7 separate regions of the Homo sapiens genome follow, and regions 1, 2, 4, 5, 6 and 7 are each linked to region 3. The links are contacts of gene promoters, found by promoter capture Hi-C in blood cells and fetal thymus (Javierre and others, 2016). All regions are on one chromosome and are shown on one strand. Each heading gives the region's core, a stretch centred on a gene start or on the middle of the fragment in contact. The rest is flanking DNA. Distances are from core to core; before and after follow the strand shown.

Region 1 (3,556 bases), core at 96-2,595, 3.1 Mb before region 3:
ACCGTGTAAACTTCTTTCTATGCTAAACCAACTGAAATTTCTATAATCTGCATTCAATGATAATGTTACTTATCATTTATTAATAAATGAAGTCAGGTAATATTTGTCAGTCACTCACACTGGTATTTTATGGTATTTGAGTACATGACAAGTTAAATCAACTTTTTGTTTCTCATTTTTAGGACTATTTAAATAAAAAGGGTAATCCAAAGAAATTTGCAGGACTTGCATCATATTTGCATGGTCATGAACCTTCAAATCTTGTTTTTGTAAATTTTCTCAAGAGAGGCCTTTTCCATAATCTCTGTAAGCCAGCCTGGAAAGGTAAGCTTGGGTTTTATACCTGTAGTCGAAAAATGGCAACATATTTATTGAATAGCCAAAACCGCAGATATGTTTTTCTCTTCTTCCTCCTTCTCATTTATTAAAGCAAATAAATACTAAGTATATGTTCAGATTTACAGATGCCAAAAAATTAGACACTAAAAGTCAACTGATATTTATTCTAATAAAGAGTATTTGAGGGCTACTTATATATTACTTAACTGATAAAGAATATTTGCAGAAGAGAAAACGGAGAAGCATAGAAAGACAATAAGTTTCTGATGGTCATATGATTTTAGTATGCTTCAGAGCCCAGTTAATTAAACCTAGCCACCTTTTAATGCCCACAGTATGGTGCTCATGCGTTATGGGGAGTGGAGAGTAGGTCAAGATGACCAGAACCTAGAGCTAGTGTTTAGAAGTGTTGGTAGGTAAGTTTGGAAGCTTTGTTTTGACAGGATTTGAAACACCCTAAAGAGCAGGCCAAGGAACCTGGATTTTTCAATTAGCCGTTGAGATACCCTCAAAGGTTTTTGAGTAAAGGAGGGATATGTTTATATTCATGCTTTGGAAAGGCTGATCACTCTCAAGATGGCCTGAAGAAAGGAGAGTGCAAGTCAGGAAACCAGTTAGTAAACATTCTGGGGTGGGAACTAGGGCGGGTATAGCAAGGATGGAAAAACAAGGCACAGAATATAAAATCTCCTGTCTTACCCAAAAAAATAAATGTGCACATAGTATTGCAAATATGGTCAATTTCTGAGGTATATATTTGCTAGAAAATTTTGCCTTCAACAAAAGGAAATGTACTATAAAAACAAATTTAGGCAGAAAATAAATGGAATCAACATTATTCTTATTTATAATAATGCTCTTTATTTCAATAGGCTCACAACAATTTTCCCAAGATGTGATGGAAAAGCTCGTGTTAGTATTGGCAAATTTGTTTGGAAGAAAATATATTCCAGCAAAATTCCAAAATGCTAATTTAAGTTTTTCTCAGTCAAAGGTAAAGTTTGTTATACTTACAATGATATAATAATGATAGTTATTAAATGTATGCTACTGGAAAGCATTCAGTACCTATAGGGTTAAATTAATATAAGCTACTCCATTTGTTTTAATAGTGTTGTCTTTTCATAATTAGAGTTCTATTTAATTTTTAGTTCAAACATCTTCCCCTGCTAATCTAACAAACAATTCTTATCCCTAAAGTTTTTTCACTTTATTGGAGCAAATTATGTAATTCAGTAGCAACAGAGATTACATACACAAATAGTCATTTAAATAGAATGACAGCCCTACTGCTGAACCTATAGTTCCATTGGGATTGTTTACAGCTAGGGATGGGAGTGCAGGGAAGGAATTACATTATGACCTCTAATGTCCTCTTCAGACAATATTGAGGTGGTCACCTAAGAAAGAATCCCCTAACTTAAGGGTTGAGAGACTGAAAGAAAAATTATTTTCTAAGTTTTTTTGTAACACTGTTTGTTTCCAATTTCTTATTTTTTTAAAGACACAACAACAAAATAATAACAAGCAAACAGAACCCAAGAAAATGTGCATTAGAACCTGGGAATGTAGAAGAAGCTTGTTTCTATCCAGTAACCCTAGTGAATAGAGAACAAAAAGGTAATTAGCATTAATCTAGGCTTTCTGACCTCACAATGCCTCTGGATATACCTCCAGACCTGAGCACCCAATTTTAGTTACTGACATATATCCACATTGCAAACCACTGGAACTGTTAATCATTTTCTTAAATGCATACACATTTTAAAGTATTTAAAAAGGAAACTTCATATTTACTACTACTGTAAATAGAAAGCCAGGATCTTTGATTTCAAAACTAAGGAAGCCATAAAAATAGATGCAGTTAACATGGTTCTCAGCTGAAGCTTCTCTCTCTTTGCTACAAAAAGAGATTATAAACTTTTAGAGAAACAATGGTGGTCTATTGCCTCTGGACTTTCTAGGGTTATCAGAAAGAATAGAAGAGGACTGGAAAGAAGATATTTTTATTTATTTATTTATTTATTTATTTATTTATTTATTTATTTATTTATTTGAGACAGAGTCTTGCTCACTCACCCAGGCTAGAGTGCAGTGGCGCAATCTCAGCTCACTGCAACTTCCACCTCCCAGGTTCAAGCCATTCTCCTGCCTCAGCCTCCCAAGTAGCTGGGATTACAGGCTTCGCCACCACGCTTGGCTAATTTTTTTGTATTTTTAGTACAGTTGAGGTTTCATCAGGTTGGCCAGGTTGGTTTTAAACTCCTGACCTCAAGTGATGCGCCCGCCTTGGCTTCCCAAAGTGGTGGGATTACAGGCATGAGCCACCATGCCCAGCCCACTTTTTATTTTTTAAAACTGATGTATAATTACTCAATGTTCTGTGTGTCACACTAAATCATCTCATGTACCTCTTATATTATGTACCATAATTTGGGATAACTGCTCTATATTAGTCAATTAGCAAAGATTTATTGAGCAATAAATATGTGTAAACTATAGCAAAAATCATGATTGGGAAACATAGTTGCTACCTTCCAAGAGCTTGCTCTCCTGATGGGGCTGTATAGCATACACATTCGAGAAGGTGGCAAACAACACAAGGTGTACATGGTAAGCAGCACGTGCTGCCCTAGAACGGTGTCCAGCAGTGGCACAATGGCAGGACATGGAAGGCATAGCAGTAAAGAGACCATATCACTTTGACCAGAGTGTAGAGCTGCACCTGTCAATTTATTCTTTTGTCTTGGTCCATCCACAGATGGAGCTGAGTCCGAAGTAGGCTTGTGGAAATTGTCATACTATCCACTGTAAGGAGTTGGTAGGGGCATTCTTTATTATGTCCACACGGTTGCCTTTTGTAAGAATCCCCCTGGAAAATTCTTACCTGATATTAGTGCTGAGAATAAATAGCTGTTTATCTCATAGACATTCTGAAATGTGTCATTCACACTTGCTCCTAGGAATCTTGGAATATAATTTGTGCCCCATTTTAGTCTCTTTCTTGTTTTTCTTTCCTTTTTACCAAATTTTGATTTATATGATCATATTGTATTATCTTTACCCTTATAAAATACCTCAATTATTGGAAAAGTACAGGTTATGAATAAATTAAGGAAAATATCAAATAAATAATAAAACCCATAATTGTAACAGAAGAAAACCAAGAACATTTCTAATGTCATAGCTATTTCTAACTCACACTAAAGAAACTTCT
Region 2 (3,558 bases), core at 696-3,195, 3.2 Mb before region 3:
CCTGTAAGGTAACATGCACACATTCTGGGGATTAGGGCATGCACAGCTTTGGGAGCCATTTATTTGTCATTGCACTCTCTGCCCCAAACATTCTCATCAATTCCATATGCAAAATGAGCCATTCCAAGGTCCCCCCAAAGTCCTAATCTATTGTAGTATCAACTTAAGTCCAAAAATCCCATCTAAATCTCATCTGCTGAAAAGACCTAAATGATTAAATCAGGTATAGTTGAGACTTTGGGTATGAACCATCCTGAGGCAAAATTTCTCTCCATATGTGAAGCTTTAAGACTAGAAAACAAGTTATTTGCTCCAAAAATACAATGGTGGAACAGGAATAGGGTACCAGTTACAGATATTCCTGTTCACAAAGGGAGAAAATGGAAGGAGAAAAAGCCAAGAAATTTCAAAAATCTGCAAGGCTAACTCCATAGGTTTTAAGGCCTGTGAATAACCATTTGTGTCTCTAGGCTCTGCCCTCAGAGTCATCCTTCATGAAAGATAGCACAAGTTTGGGGCTGAATAGTTTTATCAGACTGTTTATTGCTTATGGAATTTTGGGAGTCCTATAACCGTCTTTCATTTTATTCTCTCTCTGTACCTTTCAGTTCAAGCTGGCAGTGTTTCTGCTGATATTCTCAGAAATCTTTTGGATTTCCTGTGTATGTCACAGAGATCTTTTTGAAGCACTAGCAAAAGGTTGTCCAGCTGTACTCATGACTTTTTCTCCAGAGTACGTTTTCCCAGCAGTGAGTCTCTTACTTTTACCATCCTTTGCAGTCTTGAAATCCTGATAATTTCCCACATTATCCTTGTCCTGGTTCCTTTTTGATAATAGTCCTTCCCTCTTATAAGGACCCTTCTGATTATATCAGGTCCCCAGATAATCCAGGGTAATTTCCCCATCTCAAGATTCTTAGGAATATCTGCAAAGTTCTTTTTGCAACAGAAGATGACATATTTATAGGTACAAGGATTAGGACATAGATGTCTTTGGGAGACCATTATTCAGTCTACCACAGCTGTAAATAGAGAGAGGTTAACAATATAGGAATGGAGTGAGATTCCTGAGGAAGCTGGAGGTAACCAACTCAAAAGGGAGTGGTTATATTGTATGTGGAGCATGTCATGGGCTTCTTGGACTAGATGGAGGTGTCAGACAGTTAAAAGGAGTCTCTTTAAAACAGATATATTCTTAGTGGACTTGAAGAGAACAGCAAGATGCTGTAGGGTTTTAAGGGCCACTGTAAAAAAGATCAGGAACCTATAGTCATAAACAGTAAATCTGAGGTGAAAAATATTAGACAATTTCCTTCAATGTCCTGGTAAGGGCAAAAAATGGTTTACTAGATTGAGGTGATCAAGTTGCAGTGAAGGTGCAGAGGAAAGAGAGTGGATGAAGCAGTTGAGAATGTTAGTGAGAGGAAGGTTCAGTGCCTGTTCACAGAGTTGATCCTGGGGAGGTGAAAGAGTGGGGCTCCTAAGGAGACTGAGAGATTGAGGCAAGGGGGAAGTCTCTAAAAAGTGGAAATGGAGTTTATGATTTTCAAGTTTCTGGATAATGTCCAGGCTGGAGTTATGGTAACATATTATTAAAGTGGAAGAGAACTGGATATTGATTTGGAGTAGAGTCTGCTTATGTGCATTGTACATATACTTTGCGGTGGGAAGTGGGATGTGTGGAGTTAACATCTAGGGAATCCCCACCTGATACATCTATATCTTTAAGAGAGAAAAACAACAGCAGACAGTCAATTATATTAAGAACATGTAGGGCCCACTTCTACAACCAAAAGAGGAAATCCCCATTAAATTGTATGTGCTTTGGGGGAGGAATAATGACACTGTAGTATTTAAAAGAACTGGAATGAGATAATATATACAGAGAATATTGTAGATATTATCTTTGGAATTAAATTTTGAAGTCTTGGCTACCATTAACTACCTGTAGGGTCATCGACAAGTAATTGAATTCTCTAAGCCTTATTTACCTCATCCATAAAATAGCAACAGTAAAGTTGCTCATGGGATTTCTGTGAGATTTAATGTGATAATACATGTTAAGGGCTTAGCCTATTGCCTGGCACATAAAAAGCTCAATGAATGCTTTTACAGCAAAGCCCAATTTTCTGCTGCTAGCAAATGCATTCTTATGATACAAAGGTCCAGTATCAGATGCTAGAGAGGAATTCATCTGAGATGAACTCATGACTTAATCATGAGTCATTTCAGGTTCTTTCTCAATGTCATCCTCATTGAGAAAGAGAATCATAACTATTTTCAACCAAACATAAAATTAAAGAAAAATCCTGACAGAAGTGAGCAATGTTTTCACCTCCTTTTCGAAGCCACTTTATATTCCAGAGTCTGAGAAAAAACTTTGTTCTTCTGGGCTCTTTCTATTGTGAACAAGTCACTTCCACCCTTTCCTTTTCTTGAAGACAGAACTTCCGGTTTCGATTTCTCTCCATTTATTACCCCATGCCGTTACTGGGGCACCCTCACCACCACCTTGAATCTCAATATATTCTGCACATGCATAACGTCATGGAATTAAGCGTCTGGAGCACTAAAGACCATGATGGGCTGGGGTTGAAACTCGAATTTCAAACATTAATGAGCTTGATGACAAAACTAAAGAGCATTCTTCTTCTCAATTTAAATTCTCTGTGATAGATGATTGGTCTTTCAAATGTTCACACTGGACAGTTATACTATTGGAAATTTTTCATAAAATGAACTTCTTAGGACAGAAACTCAAAGCCCCTAATCCTTTTTTACTCCATTTTTGCCTGTCCAGTACCTTGCCAGAAAAGAAAAACGCCACACCTCACCGCAGACTTTCATAGTGCTTAGCGTGCTGCATTTACTCTCAGCCTCAATTCCTTGTTTAGAGTCCCAGATTTCTCTGCTTTCTTTCCCTTTACAATTACATGCATGTCCCAGATAGCATATCATCGCTTCTACTATTACTTCCCTAAGATTCTCAGAGTAAACCAATGCAGACCTATATTCTACCTCCAGAAAACTGCGGAAATCGAAAAGGCCTCGCGGTGGAGAAAAGAAACCGAAACTAACTCCCTAGATAAAAACTCAGGCGCTGGCTGCTGTGTGGCTCAGAGCGCCCAGTCCGACGCCAGGCTCTGCGCTCGGTCTCCTCTGCTCCACCTCCTCCCCGCGGGGCGTGCAGCTCCGAAGCTCTTTGGACCTAGCAGGTTCGGCGGCCGGGGTGAGGATTGCGGGTGACGTCGGGTGTCGCTAGGGACCCTGGAGCGGAGCTGTCCCGCGGGGGTTCTAGGATTCCTTCAACATCCAGATGGACCGGGCGGGGAGGTGGCCTGGTGGCTTCGTGCGCGCCGGGCGAGGGAAGCTGGGGCGCCCACTGGGCTCGGGCGGCAGCTTCGCGGAGAGGTAGGGAAGAGGGACAACCACCGTGAGAGAGGAGAGTGCTCAGGCATTTAACGGGTCCTCTGCACCCGAGGGGGCCTGGGGATCTGGGGTGCTGAGGAGAAAGTAAGGGTCACCACATCTGAGCACAGCCATTCGAACCTGGACATT
Region 3 (4,005 bases), core at 306-2,805:
AACAGCAACTCCAAAGACTCAACCAGGAGATTAGAAAAAATATGAGAATTGAAGCTGGAAAGTTTCCCAATAATGCCTTCCTTACTCCCTTCTAACGATTCCAGATTGTCTTGGGTGATCTTAACTATTTTCTGTTTTAAAAATATGCTGACATCCATCATCTCTATCTCTAGCCCTCTCCCCTAAACTCCAGGATCTAATTATCCAAGTTTACTGGTCATATCCAGTCAGAGAGTTCAGAGGCACATGAACTCACTCAACAGGTCCAAAGGTTCAGTATGTGCTCCTCACAACCCCCGCCCAAATACTAGGCCTCCTTTAATGCCTAATTCTCAGACATAACGTTTTAAGTCTCTCCCATTCTGCTGCCTTAAGTCTTCAAACTCTTACCCAATTTAGAAACACTTGGTTTAGTTAACATTCAGGAATTTACTTTTCACAAAGGAGCGAGGGAATGGATATACTGTTGCTAACCGAACAAGGAATTAAAGAGGAGAGGGGAAACAAGGTCTTGGAAAATTGAATTTCCTTTTCCTTTACTCATTCTTGGGCAACCTAAATGACTGGAAGCCTGTTCTGGAACAGGTTGACTAGATAAATTTAGTTATTTGTGGATTCTCAGAAACCTTGAAGTTTAGCTGTCAGCCAGTCTCTGTCCTTTGGCACTTTAACACGGATTTCACCAGCTCCTTCATTTTCTGGACTTGCCCTGCCTCCAAGCTTGCCCTTCCTAAACCTTATTTCTAAGATGCAATGCCACGATCTATATAAATTTAAACATCAGAGATAACCTCCTTAAAACACTCAAAGTTCAAGGGAGTGCTTGCCCTAAGCATAAAGATCAAGCCCCGCTGTGATTGATGCACACGAGGCCCTTCCAGACTTCTTCACTCTTCATTTCTTACATTCTCGCCATCCTACACTTCACATTTTTGCAGTATCTGATCACTCATGGTTGCTACTGCTTCATTCCTCTCTGCCCACGGAAATATCGTTCCCTTACAGGTGATGTCCTCCCATTCAACTCCTAGTCATCCTTCAGTAACCTCCTCTCGGACGCCCTTCCCAACCCCACTACTCCCAAAGCACACTACATCTTACCTCCTTCTAGTGGTTCCTGCTTTTGTATAACTTTCGCCAGCCTATCACCCTGTGCTGCAACTATCTTCTACGTCCTGTCTCCCGAAGACAACACATTTTAAAGGGCAAGAAACATGCCCTAGCCTAGTTCCATCACTTAAGAATTTCACTCCGTTTTCATCCTTTCTAGCACGTACCTTAGCCTAGGCCCACCTTCACTCCAGTCTCCTTCCGCCCCGTCTCGGGTACCACTGCCAGCGTCCCGCCCAGCGCGTGCATCCGCACCCAGAACCCGCTCCCCTCGATCTCACGGAGCACCGGGTGGGAGCCCGCCTGCTCCCCCTTCCTCGCTCATGAGCCACTCCTCCAACCCCCTCACCTGAACGGCCGCGAGATGACTGCCGGCCACCGACACCGAGGACTCGCCAGGTGTTCCAACCTCGGAACCTGCCTCGCCTGGCTTGGGGGTGGAGCCGGGTGGGCCAGGCGGCCCGTCCTGTCGTTATTGGCCTGCGAGAGCTCCCGCCCCGCCTTCTCGGCGCGGTGATTGGTCTGTGCAGTTGCCGACATCGTGTGACTCGCGCGAACGAGCTCCTGGCGGTCCCAGCCATTGGCTCCGCGGATGGAGTGAGGATAGTGAGACCTGCAGAGCCAGCCAATGGTCGGCACCGCGGAGCGCCCGGAGGCGGGGAAGCGTGAGAGCGCGCCACGGCGTGAGGGGGCGGGCACAGACGGATGGCCGCCTCGCCCTGCAGCGCGGAGTCGCCTTGGCAACTGCGGTCCCGGCAGATTCCCAGTGAGAGCCTGCGCTGTGCGGGGGAGAGTGTCGCGCCGGCCGCCGTCCCAGGACTTTTATTTCAAATGTGACCTGTGTAGCAACCGCAGTTCCCAAACCCGGGAAGAAGAGAGTATAGATGAGTCTTAAAATCTATGTTGACTGTTTTGTGTTTCCAGACACCCTTGCCTTCCTTTTTCTGGTCTACCATTTAGATTTAGATCTTTCGTCTCCCTTGTTTCCCCAGCCTACGTATCCTTTAATAAATTCCTGCATTTTGAAAACGGAGAATTTCAAATGCGATTATCGTCATTTTGCAGATGAGAAATAAAGGCTGGGAAAGATTTAAAAAGATTGAACATCAAGGGAGAGTTCGGCTCCCAGGACCTTGACCTCGCTACATGGGCAGAGAACGCCCAGGTGTTGTTGCAATTGTTGTGCTGGACGATGAGTGCCCGGGGGCGGGGGCGGGGGCGGGGGCTTGACGCAGGTCTTTGCAGCTCTAAAGCTCAGTTTACACCATCTCTCAACATTAAAATATTGTGTACTGGGGTTTAATAATAAAACTGTACAGATGTGATAATATACTAAAACTTTCACTTAACGGAAGAGGTGCCTTTAAAGAAAAAACCGCACAGGGGCATCATTTGGGCTAGTGAAGGCCCTTTTTCCTCCTTCTTTATTAAGGTATAATTGACAAAAATTGTGTTTACGGCGTACACATGTTTTGATTATGTGTATATTGTGTCAAATATATACAGCTTCTGAAAACAGAATACTATTGTTTCATTCCTCCATGCTTTTGCTCAAACTGGCCCTTCTGCCTGGAATAATCAGCCATCTCCATGCCGCCCCATCAATTCAGGTACTATCTCCTTGAGGAAGTTCCCTCTTGAAAAGTGTCTTTTTTAGATTCAGTGTGACCTGTACTTATTCGTCTATCCCTCATGTTTGGCACACACATTCTTTGTAAAGTATCATGACAGCGGTCACGTCAAATGAAAAGAAATGGGATCTGTCCCTTGGTTGTCAGAGTCAGCCCTGTCTTTAGGATGCCTTTACAGTGGTGTCTGAAACCATGCCTATATACTTTATGAAGTTAATCTGGGAAAAAGGGGTGGGGGGAACGAAATTAAACCAAGCTTGCAGCACACTGAGGATTAATAATTAGGTCAGCTTGCTGTCTGACCCCTTCCTCATAATTGTTTGCCTATTGCTTCAGAATCATGTAGACTCTGTTACAAGGTTATAGTTTCCCCTAACTGCTCTATAGACAACAACTTGAACATTATGAAACGTTAAGTTTGTGCTTTGAGATAACCTTTCAGGTCCTTCGTACTGATGAAACTACTGACTCAGCTGGTCTGACAAGGAGCTGACTCACCAAAGAATGCAGTTCCCACATCCTGATGGTTTCATTCCTCCTTACCCCAGCCAATCGAGGACCCTAATTTTCCAGCCCATTGCCCTCCAGGATCCCCTTAAAAGCCCCAGCACAGAACTCCTCAGAGAGATGAATTTGAGGGTTTCCTCCCATCTCCTCTCGGCACCCTGCCATCACTAAACTCTTTCTCTTCTGCAAACCCTGCTGTCTCAGTGTATACTGTGCAGTGGGCATATGAATCTGTTGGTCCTGTAGTGGATGCTGTGGCACACCACCCAGATCCCCCTCTTCAAGACCTAAGCAGGCATTCCTCCAGCTGCTGAGTACTGCCAAAGAGAAGCACCTCTCCCCACGGGTATACCCCCTTTCTAGGCAACAGCTAGTCAAGTAACTGGTTGAAACGGGTATAAAATCCCCTAAACCAATGTAGGGCTACTTTGCTTGGCCATCCCAGCTCCAGAGCTCCCCATCCTATTGGTTGTGTGATGACTGCACTGCCACCCAACTTTTCTCTCTGCCCAAACCTGCCATCCTCTATCAGGTGAGCATCAATAGCACACACTATCGGGCCACACTTACTAGGCTTGGCATTTTATTAGCAGTGGATAAGTTACTTCTCTGTCTTATCTGGTACTTCTGTGAAATAATAATACCTACACCTCGAAGAGTTATTTATGATGATTACATGAGATAACGTATGTAAAGCCCTTTGCACAGTCTCTGGCATACAAGATATGATCAGTAAATGTCAGCAATTATTTCTGAT
Region 4 (3,912 bases), core at 401-2,900, 3.2 Mb before region 3:
CCCACAACTGCAGCAGAAAAAGTTTCAATTATTTGGCCCAACCTGAGCCATCAGAAAGTGGCAGACTCAGGGTGGAAGCCTGCATTTAACTGCAAAGTTTTCTTCTCTCATTGGAGATATTATAGGAAATTACTTTAAAAATTTAGATAAGGGGAAAACTTTTGAAGTCTGTTTGTGAAATACTTTGAGTCGATGAAGAACTGCTACAATTTTGAAAGAAAAAGTTTGATGTTAGAAAAACATTGACAGGCAGTAAGGATCACTTAATACCATGTACCACATTCAGCAGATTCTTTAGAGAGTCCAGGTGGAATAGCTAAATTCCCATAGTCATTTAAAAATGTATACATAGATAGGAATAAATATATGAAAATGGTTGGAATAACATACACCAAACAATCAACACTGACCTCTGTGGGGGGATTTAGGCAGGGGTAGGAGTTGAAAGGTGGGACATGCAGGGGGATCTTTTGTTGCTTATTTTGTAATTTTTGAAAAAAAGTTATAAGTGATTTTTAATTTTAGGTTTAGCAGTTTTATTTTCATATTTAAGCAATTACTAAAAAAGTAATGCAAACCATTGATACAAATATTAGATATTGAAATATCTTTTAATAAAACCTAAACTATGAAAACCAAAGTTAGAAAAGCTTTAACACTTAATTTTCATGCTTCAGAATCACAGGCAACCCCCCTAGACTAAATCAATAAAGTCCCTCCCTTCCTCCCTCCCCCCTCCCTCCCTTCTGCCTCCCTTCCCCCTTCTTCCATGTCTCCCTCCCTTCCTCCCTCCCATCCTCCCTCCCATCCTCCCTCCCATCCTCCCTCCCTTCCTCCCTCCCTTCTCCCTTCCTTCTTCCCCGTCTCCCTTTCTTTCTTCCTTCCTTTTTTTTTTTTTTTTTTTTTTTTTTGCTACAAAGGGTCCTTTAGGGCAAAAGTCAAACACGAAAATTTTATGAAATTTTATGTTTGATGCAGAAAATGCACTACAATTTTATAATTTATTTCTTAATAAATACACATGGATTATTTTCCTTTCTAATTATTAAATTGTCAATGCAGGCAGATATATTTATCCTACAGTTTTAAATATCTCTTTAAACAGCTTATTTAATCTCAATTTCAAGGACATAATCTAATAGCTCATTTAATGCAGAAACAGCCAAATAAGATACTTTACAGAGTTTTTGAAGTTATCCCATGTCCTGTTCATCTTATCAACTTTATTCACCATACTGAGTCCATTGCAAATATTTAGATTTTACTTCTGAATTATCCATTTCCATTACCATTATCCAATTCAGGGCTTTATTCTTCTCACTTAAATTCAAAACCTATTTACCAAATTTGCTTCTATATTCTCTAATATGATTTAACAGTTAGAAATTTTAGTCGAAGATACTTTGTTCAATCTTTGTTTTCTTTGCTGTAATTTCACCGGGACACAGTCATTAACTCTAGATGGCCTGAATTTCTAACTGGAGCTCAGTAATTGCAATACCCTTTGACAGCCTCCACACACATATTGTTTAAGAAGTGGAGCTCTTGTCTGGGCCTTGCAGATTCCACTTGGTATCTCTTAAAGAACTTGTCATATTTATTTTTAAACCTGAATAATGATTGCCCTCTACATTTTTAAAAAATGAGGTAAGGAGGTCAAAGTGATTGTACTTGTCCAGTGCAATCCAGATCCTCATTCTATTGTGAAATATGCTATAAGGCCAGTTTTAATATTCAGCTCTAGCAATAACAGAGAAACCCAGAGGAAGAGCTGACACAGAACCCCTGGGATACAGACCCTAATCCATACCAGATTCTAGGATGCCAGAGGACTAATTTATATTCTAGGAATGTGTAATCATGTATTTACAGGGCAGTTAGTGGCCAGATAAACCTCATCGGCCTTTTCTGCTGTTAGCAATAACTTGTCAAAGAGACTTTGATTTTAAAAATCTGAAAAAAAAATCTGAATAATTGAGGTGAGTATTCAAGTTCTTTCTGTGAGAAAAAACATTGGAAGGCACATTTATCATGAAATGAGGATTTAATTTCTGCATATATGTGATTGAATAGATTTGTAATAGTTTTATATTGCCAAGAAATGGCTTTATATGTCACCACATTATTCATACTAGAAGGCAATTAGTATTTTTAGCAAATGTTAATAAGTAATATGAGCCTGAAATCATTTTATGTCAACCTCCTATATTGGATTCAAGACAATTTCATGTGCAACTTAAAACAACATGATAAAAATTATTCTGTGATGTTTAAACTTGACTGGACTCGAGATTGCACTGTGGTTTCCCTTAGTAAGCGTTATCTTATTAAAAATATGTATGTAAATTTTATGCATGAATATAATTTAAAATACCTGCTGTTACTATCCCAACTCATTTAATTATGTCCAGTGAGTTACTTTTAGAATCTTTTGAAAGTGTAATTAACAATTTATAATGTTACTGAAATCTAAGGTCTATCACTTTAAGCCATCATCACTTATCTAGCTTAAATATGGGTGAGGGTCTAGAAAGCTGCGTTTTCCTTTTCTGTGAAACATAACACATACACGATCTTGACAAAAGCTGGCTCCATAAATACATTTAATCCTTTTGGAATTGATAGCACCATCTTAGCATGCTTAAGCTTATAACAGAAAGTGTAATTCTCTGACAGCAAAGGCAGAGATGAAGTGGGCAGGCAAATCTTACGTATTATCTGTTTTTGGCAAAACCGTAACATTCTCATTACGTTTCCTCTCCAAGCAAAAGAATAATTAAGGTATCTTGTAAATAGTATCATATCTTCAGAAAAACTTTTGTATTTTTAGTTTTTTTTTTTTTAAGTCCTTAAAATGTTGCCCTACTAGTTAGTATATTAAGATACACCTTACAGACCTTTTCAATGCTTGGTCAGTTTGAAGACTCCAGAGAGGTGATGAATTTCAGATGAGCATTTCTTCTTTTCTGGGAGAATGGAGGTTGTGGCCTTGCCTATTCATTAGAGACTGCCTGGTCCGTGGTCACTTTGAGGCAACTGTGGCCTCAGACTCTCATCTGTCCTCTTACTCCACTCAGCTATATTTGGTAACTGAGCTCATGTTTCAGCAGACTGCCACGATCAGGAATTCCAGCAGCGGGCTGGGAAGCACCCCCAGGACCGAGGGCTGGGTTCTTAGAAATAAAGCCACTTAACATAGAAGGAACTATATTTATGGATCTGATAAACGTAGGATTTAAACACATTCTTCTATACTTTGGACTTGTAGCTGGAAATCACCACCTGGACCTTTAACATGTTCTTAATCAATTTAAAGTACAGTATGTGACTCCAAGTAGAAAAAGTGATAATCCAAATGGAAGCTCTTCTTACTCTGATCTTCTGTTCTGTGCATTTAAATTTTGGTCATGTGCTAGATTACCCTAAAATAGTAAATTCAGTAACTGAAAATTTAGCCACCTGTCAAATTGAGTGGAAAGTCCCATTGTTCTCTTATTTCATATTGCTAATTAAAAATTGATATATGACTATGGTATGTATTAAAGGCCTTGTCTATAATAGTATTAAATAAGTATGAACACACAGGGACTGGATCTTATCCACATTGCAACATTGAGTTCTTAGCTCAATGCCTAGGACATCATGAGCATCTCTTAAATATTTGTCAAAGAAATAAATGAATGTTGAATGAATAATATTCAGGAAAAGTATCAACCCTCTTACAGTTGCAAAAAATGTTTCACAATCATTTAATATTTTGATCTTTCAAATGACAAATAGATATAGCAAGAGTTTAATATTTTGATCTTTTAAATAACAAACATAGATAGCAAGAAGAGAAAGCTTTTCTGTTTAAAGGTCAGGTAGCAGAATCAAATATAAGGGGGGCAAAAAGAGCAACACAAAAGCTCC
Region 5 (3,557 bases), core at 915-3,414, 3.2 Mb before region 3:
GCATTCCATGACTATACTGTTTATGCTAGTATTATGCTTAATTAAGCACCACGACAATACCAATAAGAGTCTGAAAGCAAGACGTGGCACAGATCATCCAAAAATGTAGCTATCCTGGCAAGCTGAGGATAAACCTTGCAAAAAAAAAAAAGCTGCTTCCCAGAAGTTGTTTTCTCTTTAATTAAGATTCAAACGTAAAAGGTTGTATTCCAAGGATAAATGAACATAGTGATCAAGATTATGTTAGTAGTCTCAAGCATTTAGAAATACAATACCAGGGTTACTGTTTTTCCACACCAATAATGGTATGCAGCTTCGTATAATTGGGAAGGGTACCTTTATGCTTTATGAACAGACCATAGGAAAGAGGGCCTCCTAGAAGCATGATTTTCTCCAGGGATCCTTTTCTAACCCTCTCAGCCTGAGATGGTTCCTTCCCAACTTCCCACGTTCTTTTAGAACTCTTCATACCTTTCAGTCATAGCAATCATCTCTCTAAATTGTAGTTACTGATTTATTGTCCCCCACCAATAAAAACCAGAAGGGTATTTGGGATATGTTTCCTTACATGACCATCAATCTTCTTAGCCATTCATTCACTCATTCATTCAAACCATATGTCAAGGTGTTTTGGACACTGGGGGTATAGAATTGGGAAAGACAGACAAACTCAGCTGATAAGGAACTAAAGACCTAGTGAAAGGAGAGAGATAGTTCAACACATAAGCAGGTAAATAAACAAATGACTGCAGAGAGTGGTAAATGCTACACAATTAACAAAAAAAAAGGCAATGGGGTAGAAAGAAATGGGGTAGGGGAGGGATCCTTTGGCGGGAGTGTTCAGAGCAGGGCTTCCTGAGATGGTGACTTTTGAGCTGAGACCTGTCATCATGAGAAGATCTAGGAAAAAGAGCACTCCAGGCAGAAGGAACTGGAAATGCACAGGCCCTGAGACTTCCTGTGCTTGGAAATCTTGAGAAATGGAAAGAAAGCTTACTCAGAACACAGCTGTAGGCGTGAGTTGGGGAGAAGAGTGGTAGATGAGGGTGGAGAGGTGGACAGACTCTAGAACATGCTGGCTGGGCCTTACTTGTAGATTATATTAAGAACAGAAGATTTTGTTCTAAATTAATAAAAAAAAAAATCTGCTCCAGACATCAGCCTGCTGACAACCACCTGTGCTGGTGGGTTGTTGGCAGGCTGATGTCTGGATCAGATTTACAATTTAAAAAGAACACTCTGACCATTATATGGAGCACAAAAGAAGGTATACTATTTAGGAGGTAGCTGCTGATGTCCGTGGAAGGATGGCTTGGACCAGGGCTGAGCAGTGTGGGTGGCAAGAAGCGTGTTCAGATTTGGAGGTTTTGCCAATGGGACCTGCTGATGAAGTAAGCTGTGAAGGAACAGAGTATGACTCTCAGGCTTTGGCTTTAAGCAAGTGGCTAGATGGTGGTGCCATTTTCTGAGACTATATGAGGAACAGATTGGGAAGGGGGATATCAAATCAAGTGTTCGGTTTGGACACGTTGAGTTTGAGAGGCCTATTAAACGTCCACACCTAGTGAAAGGGTTTACTAACCCAGAGCAAATCAAAAGGTGGAGGTTCCCCTTAATATTTTTCTACCGCTGTGAAAAAGCAGTTAGAATCTTGGCCCTTGGAGGGAGAATGACCTGAGTTTGTACCCCAGTTTTCCTACATAACCATTTTGGATAACTGTTCTGTTTGAGCCTTAGTTTCCGTATCTGGCAAATATATCTATATCATGGGATTATTGTGAAGATTAAATCAGATCATGGATGTGGTATATTTATAGAGTACCTGGACCACACTGAGTGCTGAAAAATGATACCACAAACTGACGGCTATAATGGTGGTGATGAGGCAGTGCTTAAGGTGACAAGTGCAGAGGGAGGTTTCACTGCCAAGAAGAAAAAGCTGTGTCCACTGCACTGAGTACTGTATCAGGAGGGACAGGAAGTCGATTTCTTACTAAGCAAGGCCTTTCTTCTCAGGCTTTAAGCTTCTAGTGCTTCAGGTATTACAAGGGCCAAGCCTATTGACCAGCCACCATACTACAATAGATTCATCCGCCTCGGCCTCCCAAAGTGCTGGGATTACAGGTGTGAACCACCATGCCCGGCCTGGCACTGATAAAAAATGCTGTAACTCAGTCAGGCCTGGCACTGATAATTCTTATAAACAAAAATGCTGTAACTCAGTCATCTACAGTAGTCTCGAGGCAATAGAATTATTCAGAACATTAACTTCTCTTCAGGTTTAAAATCTACAGAGAAAGCTTTAAGATTCTTTGGCTTAGTAGTCTACTCAATAAGCAGTTGTGGAAGGCTGATGTTCATAGCATGAAATTTACCTTCAAGAATCTTGCATTCTGCCGATAAAACCAGATTTCTAAAGAATGCTAAAAATTGTCAACAGACAAGGAGAATACAGAGAACTGAGTGGCTTGACTTCTATAGTTTTACAAATTCTCGATCTGTGAAAAGTAACACATTTTGGGAGTCAACTGGAATTTAAATGAAGTCAGGGATTGCAATTAAAATTTTTTCCTTAGATATACTTAAAAACTTCTAATTGAATGGTTGATAAGTTACGTAAATATTAAGCTAACCTAAGAATTGTGAATGGAAGAAAACTTTTCCAGTTTCAGGTATGTAATGAGTCAACTATCAAAGCAGATAAATTTGATTGATAACTTGGACATAGTGCTTACGTTTAGGGGAAAAAAGTTATCTTAGTTTTAAAATGGATCCAGCTAGAATCTTCTACTTACAGTTCACAGAATCACACATAGAGTAAATAGATGAATGAACTGGTAAGTTTTAGAGCATGTGGTGCAGAATAAATGAAGCAGAAGGAAAAGAGGGAAGAAACTCTGGAAAGCTTCTGGGAGAAAGGAGAACTGAATGGTAAAGAAGGCAACGGTGGTTAGGATGAAATGCAAAGAAAATTCATGGACTGCAAGGTTTTAAAAGCTCTCTATGTTTTTTCTTTAGATGAGAACCCTGCCATTATTTTCAAAGAAGAGAGCCAAAGAAATAAGCTCCAGAGAATAAAAATCAAGATTACAAAACCAAGTCAGGCATAGAGCCTAAATAAATGCTTCACAAGGCATAGATTTATATTCACCTCTTTGTTATTCCCTAAAATGTGATTTGAGAATAAATGTGGATAGGAGAAAACTTTTCCAGTTTTAGGGATGTTGGAGGATAAGAACTGATCAATATTCAGGAATTAACCAAGAGTGTCAATCCAGGACAAAAATGAATGTGAACAGCTGTGTTTCCCAATTTGACTTCAGGACATTGGATCTTTAGTATTTCCATAATATGACTATAAAAAAATGTCCCTCTAGCCTTATTGCTTTCCTTAATGGATAATGCTTTTGGCTTGGATCTTTGTGTGGAAAAAAGGATCTTTTGTCTCATAAAATGTTACAGATGCTTCTATGGTAACACATTTTAATTTTATTCCTATCTCAGAAGATAAACATGGAAAAGTGCAATTGGCAATTTAATCTAATATTTAGCATTAG
Region 6 (3,804 bases), core at 618-3,117, 3.1 Mb before region 3:
TTCAGATTATGCAGTTTTACACTGAATAACACAGAAGGAAACTAAAATTACCAACAGTTTATATGTAAGCTTGATTCCTGTCTTAAGGAAAAGAAGAACACTGCAAAAGCAACACGTATTCTAACAAAACGTGTTCTAACATGTTTTGTTAGAACACAAACAAAAAACCTCTAAAAAGCTTTCATGTTACACTCTCATTTTGTGAATTGGCAGCTGTCTGTGTCCCTTAAATCTTTGATTATCTGCTGCTTTCTGTGTAGCAGGCAACAAAGCACACAGATTGTAACTATAGCTTACCAAAAGGGGATACATGGACCATATATCCATCACCTGGATACTCTAAACCAGTTTTTAAACATAAACTGCAGAAATCCTGACTAATACAGCAAAATAAGACTTTATTTTTTGGCTAGCTGCTAGTGACAACCAGTGATGCCATAACAGGAGGGGACTGGTCAGAAACATGCACCAACTCTTAATAGCAACTGCTCTACTTGAAATTCACATCTGGTGAAATGAGGACAGATTTTTATTCCTCTATTTTCGAATGATAAATATCATCACATAATTTTACAAATTGAAATGTAATTTGTCATTGTTGTATCTCTGATTCTATAACCTGATATACTGCTAAGGGAAAATAAGGAGTTAACTTTTTAAAAAATGTGTGAAAGCCATAATATCATCTACTGTATGTGACAAAGCCTCACAGATTCTCTATTGTGATAATTTCCATTTTCTTCTGCCCTCATTTATCCTTTATATTGCTAAGTTGTGTCTTCCCTCTTCTTGATTAATCTAGTTAGTGATTTATCAATTTTGCTGATGTTTTCAAAGACCTAGCTTTTTTCACTTTGTTAATTTTCTGTATTGTCTTTTTTTTAATTTCACTGATTTCTACTCTTGTCTTTATTTGTTTCTCTTGGATTTTCCTTACTCTTTTTTCCACTAACTTCATAAATTGAAATTTTAAGCTAAGATCTTTTTTATTTTCTATTTATGAACAGTAAAATTTTTCTTGTAAGCTCTGTTTTAGCTACATATCACAAATTTGCATCTAATGGTTTTTTCTTTACCATTTAATTAGAAATAATTTCTAACATCTCTTGTGATTCTTTTTTCTTTGACTGGTGGATTATTTAGAAATTTGTTGTTTTAAAAGCTGGGGGTATTTCACTACTAGATTTCAAAGTATTCCACAAAGCTCTAGTAACCCAAACAGCATGGTACTGGCATAAAAACACAGTTGGACCAGTGGAACAGAATAGAGAACCCAAAAATAAATTCATGTATTTACAGCCAAATGATTTTTGACAAAAACATATCAAGAACGTTCACTGGGGAAAGGACAGTGTCTTCAGTAAATGGTGCTCAGGAAATTGGATATTCATATGCAGGAAAATGAAACTGAACCCTCACTTTCACTATATTAAAAAATCAATTCAAAATGGATTGAGGACTTAAATGTAGGACCCAAAACTATGAAACTATTAGAAAAAAACATAGGGGAAATGCTTCAGGACATTGGTTAGTGTGAAGATCTTATGGAGAAGACTTCAGAAGCACAGGTAGCAAAAGCAAAAGTAGACAAATGGGATTATATCAAACTAAAAAGTTTCCGCACAGGAAAGGAAATAATCAACAGAGTAAAGAGACACCTTCAGAATGGGAAGAATATTTGTCAGTATTTATCCTACAAGGAATTAATATCCAGGATATGCAGGGAACTCAAACATCTCAATAGCAAAAGAAAAAAAAGATAATCCAATTAAAATGTGGGCAAGTGAGCTGAATAGGCATCTCTCAATAGAAGACATACAAATAGCCAACACATGTATGAAAGCATAGTCAACATTATTAATCATCGGAGAAATGCAAATCCAAACCATAATAAGATAGCATCTCACCCCATTAGAATAGCTGTTGTCAAAAAGACAAAAAAAAAATGCTAGTAAGGATGTAGAGAAAGGGTAACTCATATGCTGCTGGTATGAATTTGAATTAATTCAGTAATTATGGAAAACAGTATGGAGGTTCCTCAAAAAACACAAAAAGGAATTACTATATGAACCAGCAACTCCACTACTAGATATATATTCAAAGGATAGGAAATCAGTATGTTAAAGAGATATCTGCTGTCCTGTGTTTATTGAAACACTATTTACATAGCCAACATATGGAAACAAACTAAGTGTTCATCAACACATGAATGGATAAAGAAAATGTGGTGTATATATACACTATATAATACTATTTGGCTATAAAAAACAAAATTCGGTCATTTGTGGCAACATGATGATCTTGGAGGACATTATTGCACCATAGGGTGGATATAATTAACAGTAATTTATTGCATTTTTTCACATAGTTAGAAGAGCAGATTTGGCATGTTTCCAACACACGCACACACACAAATAATTGTGTCTGATGTGATCAATATGCTAATTACTCTGATTTGATCATTATGCATTGTATACATATATATCAAAATATCACCCTGTACTCCATAGATATGTGCAATTAGTCCAGGTGAGGTGGTTCACATGTGTAATAACAACACTTTGAGAGGCTGAATGGGGAGGATCATTTGAAGCCAAGAGTACAAGACCAGTGTGAATAACAAAGTGAGATCCTGTTTCTACCAAAAAAAAAAAAAATACAATTATAAAGTCACTTAAGGATGATTTTAAAAATTAAAAAACTATTGTTTTAATGTATAAATTCTTGTTTTTTCTAGATGTGTTATTGATTTCTAATTTAATTCCATTGTGGTTGAAGAAAATATTTCTGTATAATTTCAATAATTTAAACATCTATTGGGACTTGTTTTGACGTCCAATACATGGCCTATTTTGGTGAATGTACCATGTGTTCTTGGAAATAATATATATTCTACAGTTCTTGAATATAATCTTCTAGAAATGTCATTAAGTCAGAGTAGTTGATAGCTAAAATTAATTTTTATTTGCAACAATAGATACTTATTTTAAGGACACCTAGGAACATGAGGTAGGAGGAGACTTCCCTCAACCATCTTTCTTTGCTCTCTGATTTTGTATGCTTAAATTCTAGGAAGCACTTTAGGATCAAAACTGAGAAGAAATTGTATTTACATTCCAGTAGAATGGCAAATCAATAGAGGCACTATCCTTATTTGGATTGATCTATATAAACATCCTCAACAGTGTATTATACTATGGTTTTTAAAAATTACAGATTGAATGGCTTCCAATTGTAACAAATCTCAACCCAAATACAAAAGTATATTATGAGCCCATTCCCTCATCCTACTCCTAGAAGCAATTGTTGTTTTACTCCTAAGAATTCTAGTCTATATTTGTTCAATCTTTATACATAGGATTTTTTTGGGGTGGGGGTTAGTTTTGGCACCATTAAAAGTGAAAGCAGTGTTTTGATTGATACCTATAGAAAAGTCAGGGTTCTTTTTAAATTATGACAGTCTAGTAGGCTAGAGTGTCAATATCATTTAAAAACAGATTTTTTTTTAACTTAGTTCAGGGGTACATGTGCAGGTTTGTTATGTAGGTAAGCTTGTCTTATGGGGGTTTGTTGTACAGATTATTTCTTCACCCAGGTATTAAGCCTAGTACCCATTAGTTATTTTTCCTGATACTCTCCCACCTCTCACCCTCCACCCTCCGCCCTCCAATAGGCTGCAGTGTCTGTTGTTTTCCTGTATGTGTCCATGTGTTCTCATCATTTAGCTCCCACTTACAAGTGACAACATGCAGTATTTGGATTTCTGTTTTTGCATTTGGGACATGATCTCATTCTTGTTTATGA
Region 7 (3,809 bases), core at 723-3,222, 3.7 Mb before region 3:
GGAATCTTTGTCCTAGCCTACTGTAGGTACTTAAGAATTAATCACCTATATAAGAAAAGGCAGTTTATTTTGGTTTGCTGGTCCTTTGTAAGAAAGAGAGGGCTGAAGTAGACCTTTGCTACCTTTCCCTTTCCGGTCACTAATGGCTCCAGCTTGGACCTTACAGTTGGTGTTTTCTTTGGCACTGAAGTTGAGCCAGCAGGTATCAGGGATTTATCAAAATATCCTATTAACCCTTTTGGTCTATAGTGTGTCTTTATTTCAATTCTTTTCTTTTCTTTTTTTTTTTTCTCATAGCAACTAGCTACATTCAGACATTCTAAATCTATGAATATTTGATAAGTGACTGTGGTTCAGATACATCTATTTGCTGGGAGTAGGGAGAGAAAGAAAAAGAAAAAACAATCCAGAAGCAGCATTGTTGTTATCTTAGCACTGTTTTCTCTTTGTGTATGCTTTATGCAAGCTGATTGATTTTTAGCGTTAGCCTAGATGAACTATCTGTGGAATAAATTATTTGTGGTTTGGAACTACATGTATTTGCTTCCTTCTCTTTTCAGGATTGGAATACTGTGGGTAATGAAGGGTTAATTTTAGTTCATGATAATACAAAAGCTGAATGGTTTCGGGGAATGGAAGTGTACTTAGCTAACAATAACTCATGCAGCAAACTTTCTGGCATGTCTCCTACGTGTAGGGACTGAGCTAGCTCCCCAAATTACAGGAATGAATAAGATATTTCTGCACAAGGAGCTAAGTATAGTGAAAAAGACTGACATGTAAACAAATAATTGCAGTGTCATATGACGAATATAAAATAGAGGTACATATATGGTGCTATAGAAATGTTGAAGAAGGAAAGAATGCTTAATTTTGTCTAGTTTAGAGTAAATAGTTGTCAAGGCAGTAGACTAAATAGTGGGAATCCAGTTTGCATACTAAGGGGAAGTTTTAAGATTGTTATGGAAGTGTGGTTGTAGTCTTTCTTTCTTAAAGATTTTACTTTCCAGTGCAGTTTTTTTTTTTTTTTTTTGAAAGTGGTGGTTTTATTTATCACTCCCCTTTTTTGTTGAGCATACAACCCTTATAGAGCATAATATATATTTATATATTATGGATTTCCAGTGCAATTTATACTACAGATAAAAACCTGTAGCTGAAAATGTGGCCATTTAATAGAGTGGCCTTTATGTATATTTAGCAGATTTGATGGTATGAATATGCATCATTTGTCAGAAGCAAAGTGCAACTTGAAATAGTAGAATTAAATCAGTTCTGTGGATTACTTACCAACTTTATTTTAGATAGTAATTTCAACCAGATTCTTCAACAGATCTTGTAACACAGCTAACAAACATCACAGTTAACAAATATGTGTCCTTTTATGTCAGTTTTCCTGGTCACCTTCAAATGGAGTTTCCAATTAGCAGGAAAACAGTTTAAAAGCAAATTATAACAGGAAAAGCAAGGAACAAGGAAAATAATAAATTAGGCTGCGATTCATTGCCTAATACTGTTGACTTTTTAAAGATCAATAGCTGCTAATCTTTGGTATTACTTTAAATATAAAATAAACTGTTCATGGGAAATCATACTGATTGGAAGATATTGAATATTAGAAATAATATTTGATAAATGGAAACTGTAATGGCTGTATTACCTTAAAAAATATGTGTTTTGAATAGATAATACATATAGTACGAAATTCAAAAGTACAAAAAGGCATAAAGAGTCTTTTCTCCTCTGGACATTCAGTTACTTAAAAGTAGTTGCTGTTAACTACAAAGTTTCTTTTGTATTTCATATATAAGCCAATAAAGCATGCTGGGCATGAGTGTAAGAAAACACAAATTGTATCATGCAATTCACAGCTTTCTGTATCTTCCTTTATTCATAGAACAAGATACCTTGGTGATGTTTCTGTGTTATTCCATATAGAGCTGCTTCACTTTTTTAAATAACAGCTTTGTGGAAATACAATTCACATACCATACAATTCACCCATTTAAAGTTTACAATTCAGTCAATTCAGTGGTTTTAGTATAGTCCCAGAATTGTTCAATCTTCACCACAGTAAATTTTAGAACGTTTTCATCATCCTTAAAGAAATCCTAAACCCATTAACATTCATTCCCTATTTCTTTCCAATCTCCCCAGTACACTAAACTACTTTCTGTATCTACAGATTTGCATATTCTGGACATTTCATATAAATTGAATCATGTAATATTTGGTGTTTTGTGACTGTTATGTCACTTTTAATGACTGAATGAAAACAGAAAATGATGTTTGTTTTAAAGGTATACCTAATTTATTTAACCTGTTGCCTTTTGATGGACATTTAGTTTTGTTCTGAACTTTTTCTGTTACAACTAATGATGCAGTGACAATACTTGTATGGAGTTTATTTTGCACATTTGCAAGTATATGAGTGTAATCTTGGGACTGGAACTGCAAAGGCTTCAGAGGTATGTGCATTTTTAATTTTGACAAATAGTATTATGTTTATTTCTACAGGATACCTTAAGTGTTTCAGTACTTTATTTTTTAAGTTGAAGAGCTTTTATGTTTACTACTTGGAGAAAATCTTGTTGACAAAGATTTGCATGAGTTTGTTAGCTACTCAGAGAAGATATTCTAAGTGTTCTTATGTGCTGTTTGGAATGAAGTTGATTTCCCACTCTGCTTCCCTCTACAAATATAATATTAAGACATAGAAATTTGTTCTAGTTAAAATCTTGGTTTAGCTTTTTGGTAAGAGCCTTATTTCTTCTCCCTTAGAAAAGTGTTGGGTTGTTTTTGTTCTTTTTGAGTCCTAGAAACTTACATCAAAGAGTGGACATCTTATCTGGCAGATACATCAAATAGTGCCCCATCTCACAATTGTTAGTACTAGTGATAGGCTAAAATCCTGATGCCTTTTTAAATATAAAGGCTCTGCTGTATATAAAAATGTTGAAAACTAAAATAATGACCTAGGGATATGGAAATGAGGTGTTTCTATTTATAGTTTATAGCTAGTCAGAAATCGATAAAGGATATAATCTTTTTAAAAAAATTGTTTAAAAATTTTTTTGAGATGGGGTTTCATTCTGTTGCCTAGGTTGGAGTATAGTGGTGCAGTCTTGGCTCACTGCAGCCTAGACCTTCTGGGTTCAAGCGATCCTCCTGCCTCAGTAGTAGCTGGGATTACAGGCATAAGCCACCACACCTGGCCTATATCTTTAGAGTTTATCAAATATAAATCCTCATTGGGCAGGAGCCATGCATTTACCTTTTTGAGCAAGAGTGTCCCTGTTCCTAAAGAGTTCCTATAAAAATTGAACTGGGTTTTTAATCACATATATGGAACTAAACTAGAAGTATCTTTGCTCTAAATTGGTTTAATGCTTGTCATTTCAGTTATCTTTTCGTCGAGTTAAGAAGTGATAACTTTGTAGCCAATTGGAAACCTCTGACTGTCCAGGTGATGCAGTAGCATCATTTGTTGGACAGTGGCATCTACTGGTAGTCTGTAAATTTTATAGCCTAGTTTGAAAGGCATTGTTAATATATACCTAGCAAAAAGGGGAGTAGAGCACAATTTCCAGAATTTTATAAATGAAGTGAAAGAATGATATGGGGGAGAGTCCTTTGGGGCCAAGGAGAGAGAGCACAGACCGGAAAGTAATACAAGTAGTAAGAAGGGTGTGTGAGTTGTTTAAGGACTATTAATCTCTCTCTTCAGGTCTGTGATACATGATATGGAACCTAAGAGACCATTTATATGTCATGTCCTGGGTTGTGAATATATTTATAAATGAAGATCA

What was found. The method cuts DNA at HindIII sites, captures the fragments that hold promoters and counts their contacts. A CHiCAGO score of 5 or more calls a contact.
Region 1: a contact is called between a fragment that was not itself captured here and the fragment with the promoter of MSMO1 in region 3, in 1 of 17 cell types (M0 macrophages). The highest score is 8.9, in M0 macrophages.
Region 2: a fragment that was not itself captured here is called in contact with the fragment with the promoter of MSMO1 in region 3 in 8 of 17 cell types (total CD8 T cells, activated CD4 T cells, non-activated CD4 T cells and 5 more); the score reaches 19.2 in total CD8 T cells.
Region 4: a contact is called between a fragment that was not itself captured here and the fragment with the promoter of MSMO1 in region 3, in 1 of 17 cell types (total CD4 T cells). The highest score is 8.6, in total CD4 T cells.
Region 5: a contact is called between a fragment that was not itself captured here and the fragment with the promoter of MSMO1 in region 3, in 1 of 17 cell types (M1 macrophages). The highest score is 6.3, in M1 macrophages.
Region 6: a fragment that was not itself captured here is called in contact with the fragment with the promoter of MSMO1 in region 3 in 2 of 17 cell types (activated CD4 T cells and naive CD8 T cells); the score reaches 7.7 in activated CD4 T cells.
Region 7: a fragment that was not itself captured here is called in contact with the fragment with the promoter of MSMO1 in region 3 in 1 of 17 cell types (total CD4 T cells); the score reaches 8.8 in total CD4 T cells.

The regions. Positions count from the first base shown.
Region 1 is chr4:168,376,131-168,379,686 of GRCh38, reverse strand. It overlaps DDX60L (DExD/H-box 60 like), which reads left to right. Exons shown (of 38, transcript NM_001012967.3): 32 at 183-324; 33 at 1,212-1,333. Among named protein-coding and RNA genes, the nearest start is that of DDX60, 59 kb to the right of the region's middle. RefSeq lists enhancers at 303-472, 2,936-3,105. The HindIII fragment of the contact is 1,149 bases long and covers 771-1,919 here.
Region 2 is chr4:168,480,048-168,483,605 of GRCh38, reverse strand. It overlaps DDX60L (DExD/H-box 60 like), which reads left to right and starts at 3,114. Exons shown (of 38, transcript NM_001012967.3): 1 at 3,114-3,229. RefSeq lists an enhancer at 2,856-3,095. The HindIII fragment of the contact is 3,319 bases long and covers 286-3,558 here.
Region 3 is chr4:165,325,219-165,329,223 of GRCh38, reverse strand. MSMO1 (methylsterol monooxygenase 1) reads right to left here and starts at 1,555. Exons shown (of 6, transcript NM_006745.5): 1 at 1,460-1,555. RefSeq lists an enhancer at 1,257-1,526 and a silencer at 1,617-1,956. The HindIII fragment of the contact is 2,277 bases long and covers 723-2,999 here.
Region 4 is chr4:168,496,180-168,500,091 of GRCh38, reverse strand. It overlaps PALLD (palladin, cytoskeletal associated protein), which reads right to left and starts at 3,040. Exons shown (of 22, transcript NM_001166108.2): 1 at 2,898-3,040. All of the region lies in intron 1 of LOC107986198 (a long non-coding RNA gene), which reads left to right. The HindIII fragment of the contact is 1,996 bases long and covers 653-2,648 here.
Region 5 is chr4:168,570,534-168,574,090 of GRCh38, reverse strand. The region is part of intron 2 of PALLD (palladin, cytoskeletal associated protein); the gene reads right to left. The region is part of intron 1 of LOC124900807 (a long non-coding RNA gene); the gene reads left to right. Among named protein-coding and RNA genes, the nearest start is that of PALLD, 75 kb to the right of the region's middle. The HindIII fragment of the contact is 276 bases long and covers 2,027-2,302 here.
Region 6 is chr4:168,463,297-168,467,100 of GRCh38, reverse strand. All of the region lies in intron 4 of DDX60L (DExD/H-box 60 like), which reads left to right. Among named protein-coding and RNA genes, the nearest start is that of DDX60L, 15 kb to the left of the region's middle. The HindIII fragment of the contact is 3,373 bases long and covers 181-3,553 here.
Region 7 is chr4:168,996,861-169,000,669 of GRCh38, reverse strand. The region is part of intron 4 of CBR4 (carbonyl reductase 4); the gene reads left to right. Among named protein-coding and RNA genes, the nearest start is that of CBR4, 11 kb to the left of the region's middle. The HindIII fragment of the contact is 5,232 bases long and covers 1-3,809 here.